Linked DNA regions of Homo sapiens: region 1 is linked to region 2. Evidence: promoter capture Hi-C in human tissues and cell types (Jung and others, 2019). All regions are on one chromosome and are shown on one strand. The core of a region is centred on a gene start or on the middle of the fragment in contact, and the rest is flanking DNA. Distances in the headings are between cores, read along the strand shown. Region 1 has its middle 40 kb from the start of CXCR5. Region 2 holds the start of IFT46 (intraflagellar transport 46).

Evidence for each region. The method cuts DNA at HindIII sites, captures the fragments that hold promoters and counts their contacts. A contact is called where the count stands out against the background at its distance.
Region 1: a contact is called between a fragment that was not itself captured here and the fragment with the promoter of IFT46 in region 2, in 1 of the 25 tissues and cell types used here (spleen).

What each region holds. Positions count from the first base shown.
Region 1 is chr11:118,842,270-118,845,847 of GRCh38, forward strand. No RefSeq gene overlaps it. Among named protein-coding and RNA genes, the nearest start is that of CXCR5, 40 kb to the right of the region's middle. The HindIII fragment of the contact is 5,445 bases long and covers 1-3,578 here.
Region 2 is chr11:118,564,375-118,567,657 of GRCh38, forward strand. IFT46 (intraflagellar transport 46) reads right to left here and starts at 1,557. Exons shown (of 12, transcript NM_001168618.2): 1 at 1,416-1,557; 2 at 591-687. It overlaps LOC124902764 (a long non-coding RNA gene), which reads left to right and starts at 687. Exons shown (of 4, transcript XR_007062907.1): 1 at 687-1,000; 2 at 1,238-1,331; 3 at 1,828-1,912. RefSeq lists an enhancer at 1,600-1,829. The HindIII fragment of the contact is 14,646 bases long and covers 1-3,283 here.

The sequences.
Region 1 (3,578 bases), core at 822-3,321, 280 kb after region 2:
TGTGTGTGTTTATAATTGCATAGATATAGTTCTGGAAGGATACATGGTAAACTCAACTCTAACAAGTGTGTATATGACAGGAATGAAATAACTCTACTTTTTAGTTTGTTTTAAAAGTATTTTAATTTGCAAGCATCACTTCTATAATGTGAAACAAAAATTAAAAACCTCAAACCGTTGCTCTTCTTGGAGTCACTTGAATTGGTAGCCCTGAAGAAAATTCCTAAATTAGACTTTCTTCTGTTCTTGACTGAACGAGGATGAATGAGTCACCCAATCCTGTGCCAGGTACAGGAATAAATGCTGGACAGTTACAGATGAAAGAGAGCATGTTGCCCTTTAAGGACTTCAAAGTTTACAGAGAGACCAGAAAACAAGAAATTAAAGTACAGTATGATATATGCCACAGAGCTATACCTTGGAAAGAAAAAGGATGGACAGCACAGACTTTAAAGCAGTAACAGGAGGTGGGTAGGAAAGCCTTCCAGAGAAGGTAAGAATCGAGAGGAGTCTTTTATTTTCCCTGTTACTTTATTATTAAAAAATGTCAAACATAACTGAAAGGTTGAAACATCTGCAGATCCACCACCTAGATTCAACGATTGAACATTTTGTTGTATTCACTAGATATGTAATACAAATAAACAAATGCAAAGCCATTTGAAGTTTCACCCCTAAATATTTAAACCCCAACTCCTAAGAATGACATTATCTTACATAACCACAATGCCGTTATCAAACATAAAAATAACATTAAGGGCTGGGCATGGTGGCTCACGCCTGTAATCCCAGCATGGTGACTCAGGCCTATAATCCCAGCACTTTGGGAGGCTGAGGCAGTGGATCACCAGGTCAGGAGTTCGAGACCAGCCTGGCCAACACGGTGAAACTCCATCTCTACTAAAAATACAAAAAATTAGCCAGGTGTGGTGGCAGGCGCCTGTAATCCCAGATACTCGGGAGGCTGAGGCAGGAGAATCGCTTGAACCTGGGAGGTGGAGGTTGCAGTGAGCCAAGACTATGCCACTGCACTCCAGCATGGGAGACACAGCGAGACTCTGTCTCAAAAAAAAAAAAAGGCAAAAATGAACCCCCCCGATTAGCTGGGACAACAGGCATGCCCCAAAACACCCAGCTAATTTTTGTTTTTTAAGTAAAAATGAGGTTTCACCAAATTGGCCAGGCTGGTCTCAAACTTCTGACCTCGTGATCCACCCGCCTCAGCCTCCCAAAGTGCTGGGATTACAGGCGTGGGCCACCACACCTAGCCACAAGTATTATTCTCTAAATGTCATTGTGGTTAGATGTGGTGACAGAAGTGTTAGTGAGCTCTAGCTTGTCCTTGCTTTGCTCTGATCAGTGTCCAGAAATGCTTTCCAATTCCTGACCCTGTTGACCACCAGTGACCACCAGACACTTGGTGATGGATCCACAGAGGTGGCGGCTGCCCAGATGGCTCTCCAGGAGCCTTCTCATCACAGCCCCATGTCAGTGGCCAGATGCACTTCCCTCCCCACATTGGTGACTCCTCTTTTGATTCTCTGACTAACCTCTTGGTCTTTCCTTTCCCCAGCTTCTTCTACAATTGTGTAAAGCATAGTTCCCATAATAAATTCCTTATCTCATCATTCATGAAGGTTCTACCTCCCTGACTGATACACTTACTGGTACTGGCCGTGGTTTCAGGGGACAGATCATTAAGGATAGGAATTGGAAACTGGTTCTCTGACCTGATTAAACTTAAGTGCATTCATGATTGTTGCCAGCAGTAAACTTAAATTCTTAAACTCTACCTGTAATCACTTGTGATACATGCTTATAGACGGCAAAGCTTTGGGTAGCCAAATATTTGCTGCTGTAGAACATTTTAGTAGAAATAGGAATGTAATGAGGAATGTTGGTTGCTTCTACATATGGGGAAAGTTTGGAGAAAGAAAATGATGAGCTAAAGGCTTTAAATTTCCATCTCAAGTTCTGGAAAATGGACCAAAAAACTTGAAGACTGCCTTTAAAAAAAACTCTCATCTCTGATAGCCTCAAGGTCAAGATTTCTGATCACCAAACACTAAGTGTCCACTTGCAGCAGACTGAATTTCAACGCAAAGTGAATTCATAACCTACCAGGGTGTCTTATGTTCAAAATAAGACATTGATTGGAAAGGAGTAAGACCCTGAGTCTTAGGATACAGACATACGGATGGATTCCTATGAGGTCAAAGACCTTAAACCAAGCTTGACCAACCTGTGGCCCTGCAGGCTGCATGTGGCCCAGGATGGCTTTGAATGTGCCCAACACAAATTCATAAACTTTCTTTTTTTTTTTTTTTTTTTTGGACAGAGTCTCCCTCTGTCACCCAGGCTGGAGTGCAGTGGCACGATCTTGGCTCACTGCAACCTCTGCTTCTTAGGTGCAAGTGATTTTCCTGCCTCAGCCTCCTGAGTAGATGGGATTACAGGCACGCACCACCACACCCAGCTATTTTTTTTGTATTTTTAGTAGATATGGGGTTTCACCATGTTGGCCAGGCTGATCTCGAACTCCTGACCTCAGGTGATCACCCGCCTCAACCTCCCAAAGTCCTGGGATTATAGGCTTGAGCCACCACACTCGGCCATAAACTTTCATTATGAGCTTTGGCCAGGCGCAGTGGGTCACACCTGTAATCACAGCACTTTGGGAGGCCGAGGCGGGTGGATCACCTAAGGTCAGGAGTTCGAGACTAGCCTGGCCAACATGGTGAAACCCTCTCTCCACTAAAAATACAAAAATTAGCCAGGCGTGGTGGCGGTCGCCTGTGATCCCAGCTACTTGGGAGGCTGAGGCAGGAGAATCGCTTGAACCCGGGAGGCTGAGGTTGCAGTGAGCCAAGACAGCACCACTGCATTCCAGCCTGGGCAACAAGAGTAAAACTGTGCCTCAAAAGAAAAAACAAAAACAAAAAACAAAAACCACAACAACAACAATAAAAAACATTATGAGGTTTTTTGTGATCTTTTTCTTTCTTTTTCTTTTTCTTTTTTTTTTTTTAGCTCATCAGCTATTGTTAGTGTATTTTAAGTGTGGCCCAAGACAATTCTTTCAATGTGCCCCAGGGAAGCCAAAAGATTGGACACCCCTGCCTTAAACCCTAAATTCAGCTAACCCTCCTTAGCCAAAAAAAAGTGACCTTCTTCTCTATCTGCAGTTAATCTTCCCTTACCTAAAGAACCTGGGATGACCTCCCCAGAGCTAGTGGCCTTTCAGGGGACTGTGATCCTCCTAGGAACCTAACCCTTCCACCTCTTTTAGATCTGTAAGCTCAGAGATTCAAGTCATAGCAGGCCCCAGGGTGACTCATGAGGAAATACCATACAAACCAAAAGAATATTGAGAGTTTGTCAATGTATACATTGCTTCATGTTTTTTTTTTGACATAGTTTCATATTTACAGCAAAGTTATAAGAATAGTACAAACAATTCCTTTTATATTTTACCAAGATCCTCAAATGCTGATTTATACTGACTGAAACTCAGGGAATAGGTAGGGGAATAGATCTTGAAAGAGTGGGATCAGGATGGAAGAAATATAATTTTGGAT
Region 2 (3,283 bases), core at 307-2,806:
ACCCAAGTGCCAGGCATAAGGCTGGCACACAGTAGGCATTTTAAAATGCTTGTTGGCCAGACACGATGGCTCACACCTATAATCCCAGCACTTTGGGAGGCCAAAGCGGAAGGACTGCTTGAGGCTAGGAGTTCAAGATCAGCCTTGGTAACATAGCGAGGCCTCGTCTCTATAAAATTAAGAAAAAAAAGTTTGTTGAATAAATAAATAGTGTTCAGTCCTTTAAAAACATTCCACTGTGATTTTGGTTGGGGTTGCAGGCTAAGGGGAGGTTATGAAGCATCTTCAAAGCTAGGAAAAACATAAGTTAAAAAAAAAGAAAAGAAAAAGAAAAAGAACAGTGAATTCCTGGCAGACAGTGAGCAAAGCAGTAACATGAAGTAAATGGTGACAGGGTTGGATTGGGGGAAGATCCTGTAATTTGGAAGGCTATGATTTCTCCCCCTTAACTAGTCAGAAAACAAACAATGGCAAGTGAAGTAAATTGACGCTGAAAGTCAACATTTGCTATTATAAAATAAGAACTTCTTGAAGACAACCGTGAATCCATCCTGCTCTTTCAGTAGCATTTCTCTTCTTTCCTCTCTTACCTTGGTGTCTTGGGGTTGGAGTATAAATACTTGCAACCTCTTCGGAGTCGTTAATCTCTAGACGCTCATCATATGTCTGGTTTTCAACAACCTTGGTCTAAGCAAAGGGAGACATAATTCATAGCTCCTATCATGAGACATAAAGCACTCTGCCAGGAGGTATATTCCAAACCAGCATTGGCTCCTCTTCCTTACTCAAGAAACCAGTTTTTCACAAAACCATCACCCCATCCAAACTTTCCTTCAGGCTTCCTGGCCCTCGGTCAAGCAGTTAAGTCATTCTGTTGCAGCCCTTATTTAGGAACTGCTGGCAGGCTGGCTGAGGAACCAGGGAATCGTGGAGGGAAAGAGAGCCAACTTCTGCAGCTTCCCAAAGCTGTACGACCACGCGCAAGGGCAGAACACTATTTGTATGTAGATGGCCAAGGCTGTTGAGGTTTCTCAGGGAAGGCTGTAGAGGTTCTAGAAAGAGTTCTGTCTCTGGAGTCACCTCTGGGGTGGGGTGGGGTGGGGTGGGGTGGGGTGGGGTGGGGTGGGCTGAGGCGGGGTAGGGTGGGAGGGTCCCCGAAGAGAGGGGAAACTCCAGTCTCTCAGTCCCATCCGATAATCCCAAAATCATCACCTCCACTTTCACCCTTATCTTGCAGATAGGATCCCACCTAAGTTTCTTGGGGGAATAAAGGAAGCAGGACGGTTGGTGGTGAGGTGACGAAGGAACAGTTACCACGGAGATTGGAAGAGGTAACCGGGAATGGGGTAAAGGGGAGTCCTCTTAAGCCTCTCTAGAAAGACAGTTCCCTTTTTGCTGGGATGAGTACTAATTACCTGTAGCCCTTCTGAATCCGTCTCCTCTATAATGGAAAGAACCCCAGCCTAGGGCTGGGGTCTCACTCCAGTCTCAAAGCCAGGCCACTTTAGGATTCCACGCCAAGCAACCAGCCTGTTGTCAGTCGCTAGGCAAAAAGATAAATTTTAAAATTCGCGAGAGTTGCTTCCACTCTCGTGAGACCTCCTGCGCGTTAAGCCTCACCCGCGAAGGCTCTCCACGCAGGAAGAAGATCAAGGAGTCACGGATAAAGCCTCTCTGGGCGGCCAAGTCGCCTGTTTGTCTATGGTTTCAGTAAATACGTCTGTTGCGGCATCTAGCGGCTATGGGTGGCAACGCGGCTGATAAATTTCGGGCTGGTGTAGAGTTAGCCCTTCAATCTGGAAACAAGGTGTGCGTTTGTTCCCCTAGGACAACAATCTCTGGGGATGCAGTTGCTCCCAGATCAGTCTTACCAGGATGTAGACACATTCCAGGGGAAATTTCGCAGCACTCTGTAAGTCCTTTTCTAGCACTATATTACACTATAGTCTTTCCCCTCCACAGGGTGCCATGGAATGGAACATACTTATAGCAATAAATTATTCCTTGGGTATCTGAGGTTCAAATTTAACTCTGTGGGCCGGGCGCGGTGGCTCACGCCTGTAATCCCAGCACTTTGGGAGGCCAAGGCGGGCGGATCACGAGGTCAGGAGATCGAGACCATCCTGGCTAACACGGTGAAACCCCGTCTCTACTAAAAAATTCAAAAAATTAGCCGGGCGTGGTGGCGGACGCCTGTAGTCCCAGCTACTCGAGAGGCTGAGGCAGGAGAATGGCATGAACCCAGGAGGCGGAGCTTGCAGGGAGCCGAGATCGCACCACTGCACTCCAGCCTGGGCAACAAAGCGAGACTCCGTCTCAAAAAAAATTTTTTTTCACTCTGTGTCCTGTCTTTCTTATTTGCTAAAGTAGACTTTTAACTTATTTAAAGCAAGACCTGTGTCTAATTAATTTTTAAGCTTTGTAACACCAGTGTATTGCAGAAATTAGACACTAACAATGCTCATTGGGTGGATGAATCGAGGAATGAGTGAATGGAGATGTAAGGAACAAATATTTTCAAACTGTGGACATAATTAATTTGGGAAGTCAGGGAGAGAGAAACATAAAATATTGGAGGCCAGGTGCGGTGGCTCACACCTGTAATCCCAGCACTTCAGGAGGTAGAGGTGGGACGATTGCTTGAGTTCAGGAGTTTGAGACCAGCTAGAGCAACATAGCAAGAACCGCCCCCCTCCACTCTATTAAAAATAAAAAAAAAATTTTTTTTAATTAGCCAGGTGTGGTGGCACGCACCTATAGTGCTAGCCACTCGGGAGGCTGAGGCGGGGGGATTGCTTGAGCCAGGGAGGCAGAGGTTGCAGTGAACCGAGATTGGGCCACTGCATTCACTCCAGCCTGGGCAACAGATCAAGACCCCATCTCAAATATAAATAATGAATAATAACAATAATAATTTTTTGGTCGGGCACGGTGGCTCACGCCTGTAATCCCAGCACTTTGGGAGGCCAAGGTGGGTGGATCACAAGGTCAGGAGTTCAAGACCAGCCTGACCAACATGGTGAAACCCCCGTCTCTACTAAAAATACAAAAATTAGCTAGGCATGGTGGCGCGCGCCTGTAATCCCAGCCACTCAGGAGGCTGCGGCAGGAGAATTGCTTGAACCCGGGAGGTGGAGGTTGTGGTGAGCCGAGATCGCACCACTGCACTCCAGCCTGGGCGACAGGGCGAGACTCCGTCTCAAAATAATAATAATAGCAATACATTTTAAAAAGAAAATAATATTGGAAATTTGACCCTGAAAACCTACCAGAGGTAAACAAG